Regions from separate parts of the Homo sapiens genome. Here regions 2, 3 and 4 are each linked to region 1. Evidence: promoter capture Hi-C in human tissues and cell types (Jung and others, 2019). All regions are on one chromosome and are shown on one strand. The core of a region is centred on a gene start or on the middle of the fragment in contact, and the rest is flanking DNA. Distances in the headings are between cores, read along the strand shown.

Region 1 (3,352 bases), core at 418-2,917:
CTCCAGAAAAGGAACTCAGGAATCTGCACTTAGACAAGCATCCTGGTGATTCTGATGTGTGGCCAGGTTTGGGTACTGAGGAAGCCAGTCAGCATTAACATGGTGTGATGGATGCTACCACAGAGGCCTTTCTGCTGCGGAGGGACCAGAGAACAGGGAGATATCATGGCAGGCTTCACAGAAGCCAGATCTCTAGATGCCATCCTTGCTGTCTCTCTTAACCCCTCCCCAAGGGCCAGTCGTCAACTCCTGCTGATCTACTCCCTGAATATATCACAAATTCATCTGGGTGCCCTCCCTCCGCTGTCTCCATTCTGGTCTAGGCCACCATCACCTCTCACTCAGACTGCAGCAAACTCTACCTAACCAGCCTTTTTGACTCTAGCTTACCCTAGAGTATCTAATCTATTCTCACACTTCAAGGAAAGTAATTTTTCCAAAACGTAACTCTCATCCTGTCACTCATTCTGCCTAGAACCTTCCATGACTCCCTAGCACCTTCCATGACTCCCTAGCACCCTAGGATAGCTAGCGTTTCTCAGCTCCCACACTCCCCCAACTCCCTGGCATCTGCCTTCTCTCCAGGGAGGACTAGTACATCATTCTACTCATACATTCTACGCATACCTCATTCTACCAGTCCTACCAGCTCGTGCACCCAAGCCTTTGCATGGGCCTCCCATCATGCCTTCCCACAGCCCACTTGTAATGTCCTGGCTAATTCTCAGGTATCCGCAGGTCTCCACGTGGATATAAACATCTTTTCTACCAGAAACCTTCCCCCACGTCTCCAAAATGGGTCACCTGCCCCACAGCTACTCAAACCTTTCCGGTCAAGCTCGTTCCTTTGCCTGGCCTGCCCACCAATGCCCTGGGTGGGGACTCTGCCTGGGTCTCGCAGCACCCTCAACGCCAAGCCAGGAAGGGAAGGCAGGTTCTGAGGAAACTCTTACTGCAATAAGAAATGAATTAAATCTCTAAGGTTCTAAGTCTCTACAATTCTATTCGCTGTCTCCAGATTCTATTCTGAAAGGCCAAAATTTCTAAGAATCTGATTTTATGTTAATTCAAAAGTGTTTCCACGTCTATGCTCAAAGTTTACAAAAGACTACTCAAAGTTTACCATTCCAACTCTAAGGAGTCCTTAACTCTTCACCTCCCGGGGCATCCGGCCGCCGGGGACCGCGTCTCGGGCCAGCGCCGGGCACCACTCTGGTCCCGGGCCCCCGGGCCCCGCCGCCTCACCTGGCCGCCTGCATGAGCGCGCTCCAGCCGTAGTGGTTGCGGCTGTTGACCGAGGCACCGCGGCGCAGCAGGAAGCGCACCAGCGGTTCGTGGCCCCCGGCCGCGGCGAACTGCAGTGCGGTGTTGCCCGCCTCGTCCGAGCAATCCACGGGCACCGGAGCCCCGACTGCCCCCGCCGCTGCGGCCCCGGGCCCGGCCACCTCGGCCCCCGCCGGCTCCGCGCCCGCCTCCGGCTCCGCGCCGCGCTCGGCTGGCTCCGCCGCCCCCGGCTCCAGCAGCCGCCGCGCCGTCTCCGTGTCGCCCTGGTCACACGCGCGCAGCAGCAGCTGGAAGGCCGGGGGCAGCCCGCCCTCGCCCATCGCCGCCGCCACGCGCGGCCCGCTCCCGTCCGCCCCGCCGGCCGCGTCGGCTCCGCCCCCGGATACCGCCCGCAGGCGCCCCCTTCCGGCCACCCGCCCGCGCCGCGCGCCTACTGTGTGCCGGGAGCGCGCCGGGGCTAGGGCCGCGCGCCTGCTGTGTGCCGGGAGCGCGCTAGGGCCGGGGCTGCGCACCTCCAGTGCCCGTATTCGGGAGTCCAGGGACGCTCAGAGGAGCGCCCGCCGCAGACCCGCGTGTTCCCTTTTGCCTCTTCGGCGCCCTCTCGCCGCCCTGTCCCGGGGCTCCAGAAACTTCCTGTCAGGGCAGAGGTGGGAGCGGCCACGCCATCCCCTCTTCACGCTGTGGTCAGGGCCCTGGGCCCGGGTCTGAGTCCGCAGCTGCGTGGGCCTTGACTTTACTAGCGGGCTCCGCTGACCCCACCGCAGCCCCTGGCACTGAACCTGCCCTTCTAGAATAAGGAAGCGGCTGAATTAAGGAACGAACGGATTGTTTCCTCACAGTGTCCTGCGGTGCCCTTAATGTCGCTCCTTCATCTGGGCCAGGCTGCTGGGGCTAAAAGCGCCTCCTGTTCTCTCTCTCTCCCCCACCTTTTATTTCAACTATTATTATAGATTAAAGGGTACAGGTTTGTTACATGGGTAAATTGTTACATGGGTAAATTGCGCGACGCTGAAGCTTGTGGTCCCAACGATCCCGTCACCCAGGCAGTAAGCATAATACCCACCAAGAGGTTCTTCAGCCCAGAGTCCCCTCCATCCCTCCCTGGCCTAGCGATCCCCAGCGTTTGTTGTTCCCATCTTTGTGTCCATGTGTACTCAATGTTTAGCTCCCACTTATAAGTGAGAACATGCAGTATTTGGTTTTCTGTTCTTTTTAGGTCGCTTAGGATAATGGCCTCCAGCTTTATCCATGTTGCTGCAAAGGGCATGATTTCGTTCATTCTTATGGCTGCATAGTATTCCGTAGTATTCCATCATATTCTATCGTGTATATGCACCACATTTCTTTCATTCCTTCCCTCTCTTCCCTCCCTCCCTCCCTATCCCCCTTCCTTCCTCCCTCCCTCCCTCCCTTTCTCCCTCTCTCTCTCTCTCTCTCTCTCTCTTTTGACAGGGTCTTGCTCTGTCATCCAGGCTGGAGTGCAATGGTGCAATCTCTACTCACCACAACCTCTGCCTCCCAGGCTCAAGCAATCCTCCCACCTCAGCCTACCGAGTAGCTAGGACTGCAGGCAAGTGCCACCACACCCGGCTAATTTTTTGTATTTTTGGTTGAGAAAGGGTTTTACCATGTTGTCCGGCTGGTCTCAAAGTCCTGAGCTCAAGTGATTCACCTGCTGTGGCCTCCCAAAGTGCCAGGATTACAGGTGTGAGCCATCACATCTGGCTCTGTACCACATGTTCTTTATCCAATCTACTGTTGATGGGCACTTAGGTTGATTCCATACCCTTGCTATTGTAAATGGCACTGCAATGAATATACAGGTGTCTTTTTGATAGAATGAATTATTTTCCTTTGGGTATATACCTGGTAGTAGGTTTGCTGGGTCAAATAGTTCTATTTTAAGTTCTTTGAGAAATCTCCAAACTGCTTTCCACGGTGGCTGAACTAGTTTGCATTCCCACCAACAGTGTATTTTCTCCACAGCCTTAGCAGCACCTATTGTTTTTTGACTTTTTAATAATTGACATTCTGACTGGTGTAGATGATATCTCATTGTGGTTTTGAT
Region 2 (3,384 bases), core at 377-2,876, 510 kb before region 1:
TCCCTCTGCATCTTGTGGCTGCTGCTTCTTTTATCCTTACTCTGGTCTCTACCTAAACATAGAATTTGCTGTTTTTCTTTATTTCCACTAAAACTCACAAAGCTTTTACTTGTATAGTAAATGTAACCAAAGGTTTAGGGACATTTTGCAGGAGGGAGTGAAATAAAGGGAAGACAGAGGCTTTTACTTCATGCAACACAAATGACTTAAAATCAAATATTCAACATCCCTATTCTTTTTTTTTTGAAAAGGAATTTTGCTCTTGTTGCCCAGGCTGGAGTGCAATGGTGCAATCTCGACTCACTGCAACCTCCACCTCCCAGGTTCAAGTGATTCTCATACCTCAGCCTCCTGAGTAGCTGGGGTTACAGGCGTGTGCCACCATGCCTGGCTAATTTTTTGTATTTTTAGTAGATACGGGGTTTCATCATGTTCGCCAGGCTAGTTGCGAACTCCTGACCTCAGGTGATTCACCCGCCTCAGCCTCCCAAAGTGCTGGGGTTACAGGCATGAGCCACCGCACCTGGCTGACATCCCTATTCTTAAAAGCTTTTTAGCCACACTGTCCTGTTATTTATCACCCACTCCTTTCATTTTTCTCTCCTTCTAACCCCAAACTTCTAGTTCTTTTTCTAACAGAATTGTTCTGCTGTCTCTCTTTTAGCCTTGTCTTTAGAATCTCACCTTGCCCCTAACACAGCATGTCAGGATGTTTTCCCTAATGACATTCTTCCTAGATGCAGTCTGTTGTGAGGAGACTAGGCTGTTGGCTGCCCCATTGTACCTACTAAAGCTGCTCATTTTACATTCCTCCTGTCTGGGAGTAGCACAAATATAAGCTTAGTGTTCACAAGGCACTTTCCCCTACATGAGCCTCTTTGACTGTCAGAGAAGCTCTGAGCGAGGTATCATGTCCATTTTACAGATGAGGGATCAGAAGCTCAGAGAGGTGGAATCATTCAAAGCCATGCAGCCAGGTAAGTGAAGGTGTACAAATGTGCACCCAGGCCTGATGATTTTTCAGATGTAACTCACATCATCACACATAGACAGGATGCGTGCTGTCTGATCACGCAGCAGTCTGAAGTCACATGGATTCCATGACAGGTGATTAACACACAACAACTTAGTTGTCCTTGGTGCAGCCACAGCAGCCCCTGCAGGTGCATGCATTCTACAGAATTGGGCTGCTAGTTCTCTCCCTCTCCCCTCCTCTTCTTTCTCTCTTTTGCTGGCTAGCTTTTACTCATTTTCAGGTCTAGGTATAGGACTGGCTACATAATTTGTGGGCTCCAGTATGAAATTAAAGTGCTAAGCCCTGGGCCGCGTACAGTGGTTCGTGCCTGTAATGCCAGCACTTTGGGATGCTGAGGTGGGAGGACTGCTTGAGCCCAGGTGATCGGGACCAGCCTGGGCAACATAAATTTTTTTAAATATTTTATTTTTTAGAGAGATCTCATCTCTCTAAACAATAAAAAATTAGCCAGGCATGGTGTTGCATGCCTGTAGTACCAGCTACTCGTAGGCTGAGTGGGGAGGATTGCTCGAGCCCAGGAGGTCAAGGCTGCAGTGAGCTGTGATCATGCCACTGTACTCCAGCCTGGACAACAGAGTGAGACATTGTCTCAAAAATAAACAAGTCAATAAAAAATAAAAATAAAATAAAATTCTAAGCCCCCTTTTCAAAAGTTATTTAGAATTTCAAAATAGTTACAGCAGAGCATTAAGTCGAACATGAGGCCCTTTAAAAACTGTATAGGTTGCAAACCCCCAAAACTAGCCCTGTTTGGAGGCTATGGCCCCCAGGAGGCATGTCCATTCTGGAGCAGGTGCTTATCACAGGCTATTGTCATTTCTTCATTAAGCATCTGTCTTCCTATTAGTGTGTGAGCTTCTTGAGACCTATATCCTACTCACTGTTCACCTGGCACCTAGCACAGGCCTTGGCAAAGATCAGGGGCTCGGTGGATGCCCCATTGAGGGTCTGGGGCTCCTGAAGGTGGGACCTGGAGGAACCAGACAGTGAATTGTCATCTCTGGGCAGGACCCACTCAGGACCACGGACAGGGCAGACCAAGTATGATGGAGTTAGCCCCTGGGATTTGCCAGGGGTTTCAGATGTGGGGTGGAGGCAGAGGAGGGACCAATTTTCTCTTCCAGAGAGTGTGTTAATCATTTACTGTCCAGTACCTACAAACCCTGCTCCTCAAGGCTAAGTAAGGGGTGACAAGCTAAGGGGGTAGGGGACAGGCAGGTGACAAGTGCTGGGCACGCAGCTTGGTGCCAGCCCTCCGGCCCTCAGCCTGGCTCCTTGACCCTTCTTTAGCCTCCTGAGGCTTCTTAGCCCCATCTTCCCTTTGGGTATCCTTACCCACCTCCCTGTTCAGCAGCGTGTGTGAGGCCAGGGAAATATCTCCTGCATGTCTCCTTAATACCAGGAGGGTTTCAGACAACAGTGAACCCCTCGTGGAGCCCCTCTGCATCCCACAGATTTCTTTTGGTTCTAAGTGACAGAAACCCAACTCTATGTAAGCAGAAAAGGGTATGTATTAGTTTAAAACCTACAAGCTCAAGGATGGATGTATTTTTAGGTATCACTGGTCCTTGAGCCTAAATGATGCAATGAGAGCTCAGTTTCCCTCTTTTCATTGCTCTCCACGTGGAGGGCAAGATTTCAAACTTCTTAAAAACGGCAGGGGAAAGCTTTGACTGGCTGGGCTTGGTTAATGAGCATATCCCTGAGCCAATCCTGTGTCCAGCAGTGGAAGCAAGGGCGGCCCTCCAGATTTTCTCTCTTCTGCTTTCCCCCAAAAGTAGGGCAGTGCTTTCAGAGGAGCTGCAGGAAGGCAGATGTGGTTGCTGGACAGGCAGAGGTGCTGATGGCCGCCAGTCTGCTTTTTGCAATCTACCCAGTACCACCTCCTCTCCCTGGCACTGGCTTCTAGGCCTGTGGATCCTGATCCTTGTAGAGAAGAAATTGCTGAGCACAGGAAACTGCCTGGAAGGGCAGGCCTCGGCTGGTGCCCCAGGCTTAATGTTTTCAGAAACCTCTCCCCTTCTTCCCTCAGAGTGGACCCCAGTGTTGTCTCCACACCCCAGGGTGAGGAGACCCCCAGGCAGAGCTTTCTAAGAGGGCTTCAACTCCAGAAAGCCTGTCTTTGAGGTTGGGAAACACTCTTTTATTTTTAACTCAGAAATGACCCAGTCATAACAAAAGGAAGACAGAATGCTTTTGAAGAAGAATGAAGAGGAATGAAGTGCACCATTGCTGTCTGGGCTTTTCCTGCTTATGGCCAAGCAAGGCATCACTTCAGTGATGTGACAAGGAGCATCTTCAACACTTGGGTCATTTCTCTCTTTCAGACGTGCTAAGAGGAAAGACCA
Region 3 (3,157 bases), core at 327-2,826, 600 kb before region 1:
TTTGGCTGTTAAGAAAATCCCTGGGTGCAGGGCAGGTCATGAAGGGGACAAGAAAGACCAGGAGGCTGAGAAGTGATTCCTAGAAACTGCTCCCTCAAACAGGGCAGGCATCAGGGAGGTGGAGAAGAGGCCCCATGGGGCAGGAAAGGCCTGCAGAGGGGCTCCGGCTCTCCTCACTCCGGACCTCTCAGACGGTCCCCAGGAGGGGCAGGAAGCTGGGGAGACACATTCCAGTCCTGATGCACAGGTGGGTTCTGAACAAGCCCCAGGAAAGCGGAGGCCCCACAGCCTGCTCCAGGGCAGACACCTCGGCTCCCTCTTCTTGCCTTGGCTCCCTGGGATCTGATGGGAGAAACTGCTGGGCCTGGGGCTGCTGGGTCTGGAGATGAGCATATTTAAGGGACCTGACCACTGCCCCAGGGTGAGGGAGGAAGGGTCAGAGGTTGTTTGTGTGTCCAGAGCAGGACCAGCAGGAGAGGCAGTGACTGGGTAGCAGATTCCAGCTTGGTTTACAACTAGTGAGATTCCTATCACAAGGAGTGTGCAAGGGGGCAGCAAGACCTTCCAGAGGGGATCTTACAGAGGGGCTGGGCCAGATGCCATAGGTCTTCTTTACCTAGGGAGCCTGGGACCACAGTCCCTCAGACCTGTGCTCTGCCCCATCCCTTAATGCCACGCGGACACAGCACCTTGGCACTGTCACCCCTCTGAGGTCCAGGCGTGGCCGCCAGTCACCCCTTGTCACACCAGCTAGTGTGTGTCACACCTTATCACACACTAGCTCTGGGACACAGAGCTAGGCACCAGCACCTGGCCCGGGTGGGGAAGGGGAAGGAGCTATCCTATACCACTCTCTAAATCGAGGTGCCTACGTGGGGCTGGTCCAGGCAGTCGTGCCGCCAGGAGTCCAGCCACCTCCAACCTAGGGCTCCTCCAGCCCCAGACGAGTAAACCCTCTTGGCGGGCCGGCTGATGCCCCACATGCACGCCCAGGCCGGCTTGGCGGGGACCCGGGGATGCCCCCCACCCCACCGTTTCCTGTACCAGGAAGCTGAGGCCCAGCAGGTAACGCAGCCAAGAGGGGGAGGGTCCCGACAAGAGTCCCATGGAGCACCCGGGCCACAGCAGGGGCCTGTCGGGACCGGCTGGCCGCGCCCAGAGTGAGCTTCCCTCACCGCGGGCAGGAGGGGTGGGCGGTGCAGACAGTGCTCATGAGGGCAGCGAGCCGTCGGGAGCCCGGACCTCGAGGCGGCCCCTCCCAACAACCCCGCGAGAAGGGGGCCACCAATGAGCAAGCTATCCTGACGGGGAAACTGAGGCCTGGAGAGGAGCAGTGCTTTGTGCAAGGTCACGCAAAGGGGCTGAAAGCCAGGTCCCCCGCGCTCCGAGCCCCGCATCCCTCCCTCTCCGGGAGCTGCAGCCGCAGCGCGCACGTCCCGCCCGACGCCCCCATCGCGCAGACCGGGAAGGCACGGCCGGCGGCGCAGGGCCGCCCTACCTTGATGACTGCCGCGCAGGTGGCGGTGGCGGCGGCGGCGTCCAGCTCCGGCTCCGCGCTCCTCGCCGCCCGCCGACTCCCGGCGCCCAGAGCCGCCGCCGCCTCCCCCTGCAGCCCGGCGGGCGGGGCCGGAGGGCGGGGCGGGGGCCTGGCCCAAGGTCCGCCCTTTTGCCCGCCCCGCGGGTCCGCCCTGGCCACCCTTTTCCGCCCCCACGACCCCGACCGCGCTCCTGGCTCCCCGGGGCGGGTCTCGGGGCGCGCACACGTGCTGGGAACAGGCGCGCACACGCCGCAGTGATTGGGGCGGGCTGCCGGCCACCAGGCGGAGGCTGGGGACAGGCAGAGCCGCGGGCCCCACGTCGCGCCGTGCCCTCGCTGCGTGGTGTGGGATGAGGAACCTGACCTCCCGGAGCCTCAGTTTCCCCCGTTGTGAAATGGAGACAGTAACCGCGTCGGCCTCTTAAGGCTGTTTGAGCCCTGGATGTGACGATCCCGGCCGGGTACAGTGCGCGCGCCGAGCCCGGCCAGGGAAGCGCTCCTTTCCCCGAGCAGTTACAGCGGTTACCGAGGCTTCCCCGTCCGCAGGGAGGAGAGGAGCCGGGAGCGCCGCTGGGAACCGAGGAGGACGCCCTTCCTTCTCTCGGGACCAGCCGGGGGCGCTGCTGCCAGCCTCGCTGGCTGGAGAGCCCTGAGGACACTAGACAATGGGGAGGCCCTACCTTTGGGTACCACCCCCACCTAACACTACTGAGCCACGCACTCCTCTAAGCGCCTTCTGTGCATTACCTCGCTTCACTGTCACACAGGCCTATGAGGTTGATACCATTACTCACCTATTTAACACAAAAGAGCTGAGGCACAGAGATATTAAGTACCTAGGTTAAGATCACCCGGCTAGTCATGCAACCCCAGGCAGTATGGCTCCCACGGCTACTAAGCTAACAGCCACTCCACTCCACACCACGTCTGTGAAGAGCTCTTGGTTTTGTTCAGTAGAGACGGGTTATCTTGAGGGCCTTGAACTGCTCCGTGGCACATAGTAACCACTCAATATATAGTTGTGGAGTGGATAACAGAGTACACTGTTACTACTTTACATATCTGTATCGTTTCTTCTAAGCTTCTAATAATAGTGGCTTTATTTAGCCACTATTATTACCTCCATTTTACAGATAAGAAAACTGAGGCTTGGAGTGGCAAGGTACTTAGGGAGCTCTTGATTCTCTCCTTAGAATGTGACTCAGCTTCCATAGTCCACTGTACCACCCCCCTGCCCAGAGCTGGACGGGCTCCCTGCCTACCACCCAAAGCCCAGTGTGCACTATGGTCCTGAAAACCCCATCCTACAGCTCTGATTCAGACCTTCTGGAGCTGGATTGCCCAGCAGGTAGACTGAACGCATGCTTCTGGTGTTAGCGTGCAAGAGTTGGGTATCAAGCATATGGATGGCTGGGCGCAGTGGCTCATGCTTGTAATCCCAGCACTTTGGGAGGCCAAGGCAGGTGGATTGCTTGAGCTCAAGAGTTCAAGACCAGCCTGGCCAACATGGTGAAAACCTGTCTCTACTAAAAATACAAAAATTAGCCGGGCGTGGTGGCATGTGCCTATAGTTCCAGCTACTTGGGAAGCTGAGGCAGGATAATCACTTGAACCTAGGAG
Region 4 (3,058 bases), core at 438-2,937, 570 kb before region 1:
ATCCTGACACTCACTTTCTCCTTCTCTGTTCAAGTGACTGTTAGCTGGGCACATGGTTCCCCAGCTTAAAACTGCATCTCCCAGCCAAGCCATGGTGAGGTGTAGCCAAGTAACTATTCTGCCTAAATGGGAAATGAAAAGTGAGATGGGCAGCTTCTGGGTCCTACCTTTAAAACCACTAGATACACGCTCCTCTGGTCCAGTTCTCTTTGCTTCTGGCTGGGAAGTGGCAGGAACTAGAGTGGCCGCCTCAGACCCACAGCAGAAGGTACATGTTGAGAAAGGGCTGCCCCCCAGCTCAGAGTTGCTCACCTACCTCTGGGTTCTTTAATGTGAATGAGAAACCTCTCACTCGTTTTGGGCCACAGTGCTTTGAAACTTTTTTTTTTTGAGATAGCGTCTCCCTCTGTTACCCAGCCTGGAGTGCAGTGGCACAGACATGGCTCACTGTAGCCTCAATCTCCTGGGCTCAGCTGATCCTCCCACCTTAGCCTCTCAAGTAGCTGGGACCACAGGAACATGCCAACACACCAGGCTAATATTTGTATTTTTTTGTAGAGAAGGGGTTTTGCCATGTTGCCGGGCTGGTCTCAAACTCCTGGACTCAAATGATCTGCCCACCTTGGCCTTCCAAAGTGCTGGGATTACAGGTATGAGTCACCACACCCAGTGGAGATGTTTTTGTCACAGCAGCTGAACCCATACCCTGACATATACACATCCATTTCAGGGATGAACAAACTGAGGCCCAGCAGAGAGTAGAATGGAATTCAATCTCAATTGGCTAGATTCCAAAGCCTGTGCTCAGTAACTAAGAAAACCAGGGGTGGCAGCTATGTGGCATTACTCTTCCCTCTCATCCCTGTGGCAGACATCACTAATTAATCTCCCATACTTCTTCCTGCACAGCCTACCCTAGTTGAGGCCTCAGAATCATTCTCAATATAGCAGCCAGTCACTACCAATCAAGTTGAGTCAGGGTTAAAGAGGAAATACACTGGCAATCCCCATGTAAAGCCACACACAGAGGACCTCATTCAAGCCATTTGTGCCTAGTTACCTTCAGCCCACCAGCCGATGCCTGCAAAGCTGGTGGAAGGAACTCTAGAAAGTTCAGAAACAATAGAGCTTGATTTATTCCTCAGCAGGGGCAACTAATTCACACAGGAACTCAAGGTCTGCTCAGCTCCCTGTGCCTTTAAGCCTGTAATTTCCCCAGGGAGGGCCACGCCTGGACTCAGGCCTATCTGTCCCAAAGCAGGGATGTGAATTTGTTCTGGGCCAGGATCAGGACATCAGCAGCCAGGTCCACGTGGAACTAATACCAGGTAGGTATGACTTTCAGGCAACACTGCCCTGCTCTGTGCTTCTCATTTGGAAAAACATGGTTTCCTAGAGACATGTCAACTATACCACACCAAAGTATTAAAATGAGTGGATTGGCTGGATAGCCTTATTTGCTAAGAACAATTCTATATTGGAGGAAAACTGCCAAAAACCATGACTTTTTTGGAGAAGCTAATGACAAGACCACATTAGCCTGCATCTTCTGAAACCTTAGGACTAGTGACCATCCTTTCTCTGGTTCTCTCTTTTCCTTCCACATGCCCATCCATCCATCCAACCTTTACCAAGCACCACTCGGTGCCAGGCCAGGCCCTGAGCCAGGTGCCGTGGCCCAGAGAGGGAGTGGTGAGAGTTCCCACCTCCAAGGACTGCAAAGGCTGGTGGGAATGAACATGACCCACCACAGTGGAATGATCTACTGCAAGTCAGGGGAACAAGGGTGTTTGTGGGAAAGGCAATGACTTCTGTCTGGGGTGGAGGTTGTGGGGAATACCAGTCCAGAGCATTTAAAAGAAACTGTGAAGAATGAGAAGGGCCAGAGATGGTCGAGCAGCAGGTGGGAGATGAGGGTGGGGATGGCCCTCCAGATGTGGCCAAGCTACAGCCCCAGTAAAGACCTGGAGGAAGGAAAGAGCTACCATGGAGCTGTGGGAGCCCTGGGGTGTGGCAGGAAGTTGGGGTGAGGACAGCACAGTGATTGCAAACCAAAAGGGAATGTTTGGAACGTCCAGAATGAAGAAGTCAGCTTCTCAGGGCTCAGTGGAGAGAGATTAACATTCCTGTGGTTCCAGGAAAACTGGGGGCCTAGGCCATTTTCTGCTTCAGCTGAGATTTGGAGGTTACCTTGGATGACTGCCCAGGGAAATAACCAACAGACATCATTGTTCAGACTTGCCCTAGGAGCAGGACCAGTGGGTGTCTTTCCCTCAATTTGGGGAGTTAGTTGACTCTGAAGCTTATTTCATTACATCTAGCTGTCTCCTTCCCGCATTTGGCTCCCAGAATCTAAGACTGAGACACCAGCCCAGGAGGCTCTCCTCCCACCCCCAGAATTCTTGTACCAGAATAAAATAGGCTTAAAAGAACGGAACCAGGGCAGAGGGAGGGAGCCTCAGTAGGACTTGTAAGATGAGGAGTGAGAATGTCATGAATTCAAGAAACCTAAAGTCTGGATTATAAGCAATGTCTTAGGACCAATTCTTAAAAATAGGTTGGGCCGGGCGTGGTGGCTCACGCCTGTAATCCCAGCACTTTGGGAGGCCAAGGCGGTCGGATCACGAGGTCAGGAGATCGAGACCATCCTGGCTAACATGGTGAAACCCCGTCTCTACTAAAAATACAAAAAAATTAGCCAGGCGTGGTGGCGGGTGCCTGTAGTCCCAGCTACTCAGGAGGCTGAGGCAGAATGGTGTGAACCCGGGAGGCGGAGCTGGCAGTGAGCTGAGATCGCACCACTGCACTCTAGCCTGGGCGACAGAGCGAGACTCCATCTCAAAAAAAAAAAAAAGAAAAGAAAAGAAAAGAAAAATAGAGGGGTTGATGAAATTAAGCTTTTTGAAGTGTTTTTTTTTCTTTTCTTTTTTTTTTTTTTTTTTTTGAGACAGGGTCTCACTCTGTTGCCCAGGCTGGAGTGCAGTGGCGCAATCACGGCCCACCGCAGCCTCAACCTCCTGGGCTCAAGAGATTCTCTTGCCTCAGTCTCCCTTGTAGC

What was found. Contacts are between HindIII fragments. The study calls those that stand out against the background at their distance.
Region 2: a fragment that was not itself captured here is called in contact with the fragment with the promoter of ANKS6 in region 1 in 7 of the 25 tissues and cell types used here (IMR-90 fibroblasts, adrenal gland, aorta and 4 more).
Region 3: the fragment with the promoter of CORO2A here is called in contact with the fragment with the promoter of ANKS6 in region 1 in 1 of the 25 tissues and cell types used here (mesendoderm cells).
Region 4: a contact is called between a fragment that was not itself captured here and the fragment with the promoter of ANKS6 in region 1, in 1 of the 25 tissues and cell types used here (esophagus).

Annotation. Positions count from the first base shown.
Region 1 is chr9:98,794,888-98,798,239 of GRCh38, forward strand. ANKS6 (ankyrin repeat and sterile alpha motif domain containing 6) reads right to left here and starts at 1,668. Exons shown (of 15, transcript NM_173551.5): 1 at 1,246-1,668. The coding sequence starts at 1,604. RefSeq lists enhancers at 931-1,431, 1,432-1,932 and a silencer at 1,191-1,810. The HindIII fragment of the contact is 18,100 bases long and covers 1-3,352 here.
Region 2 is chr9:98,282,877-98,286,260 of GRCh38, forward strand. No RefSeq gene overlaps it. Among named protein-coding and RNA genes, the nearest start is that of TBC1D2, 29 kb to the left of the region's middle. The HindIII fragment of the contact is 5,687 bases long and covers 1-3,384 here.
Region 3 is chr9:98,191,061-98,194,217 of GRCh38, forward strand. CORO2A (coronin 2A) reads right to left here and starts at 1,577. Exons shown (of 12, transcript NM_052820.4): 1 at 1,499-1,577. RefSeq lists an enhancer at 430-1,084 and silencers at 1,237-1,286, 1,357-1,906. The HindIII fragment of the contact is 8,969 bases long and covers 1-3,157 here.
Region 4 is chr9:98,221,357-98,224,414 of GRCh38, forward strand. The region is part of intron 5 of TBC1D2 (TBC1 domain family member 2); the gene reads right to left. Among named protein-coding and RNA genes, the nearest start is that of MIR6854, 6.3 kb to the right of the region's middle. RefSeq lists an enhancer at 1,314-2,513. The HindIII fragment of the contact is 3,073 bases long and covers 152-3,058 here.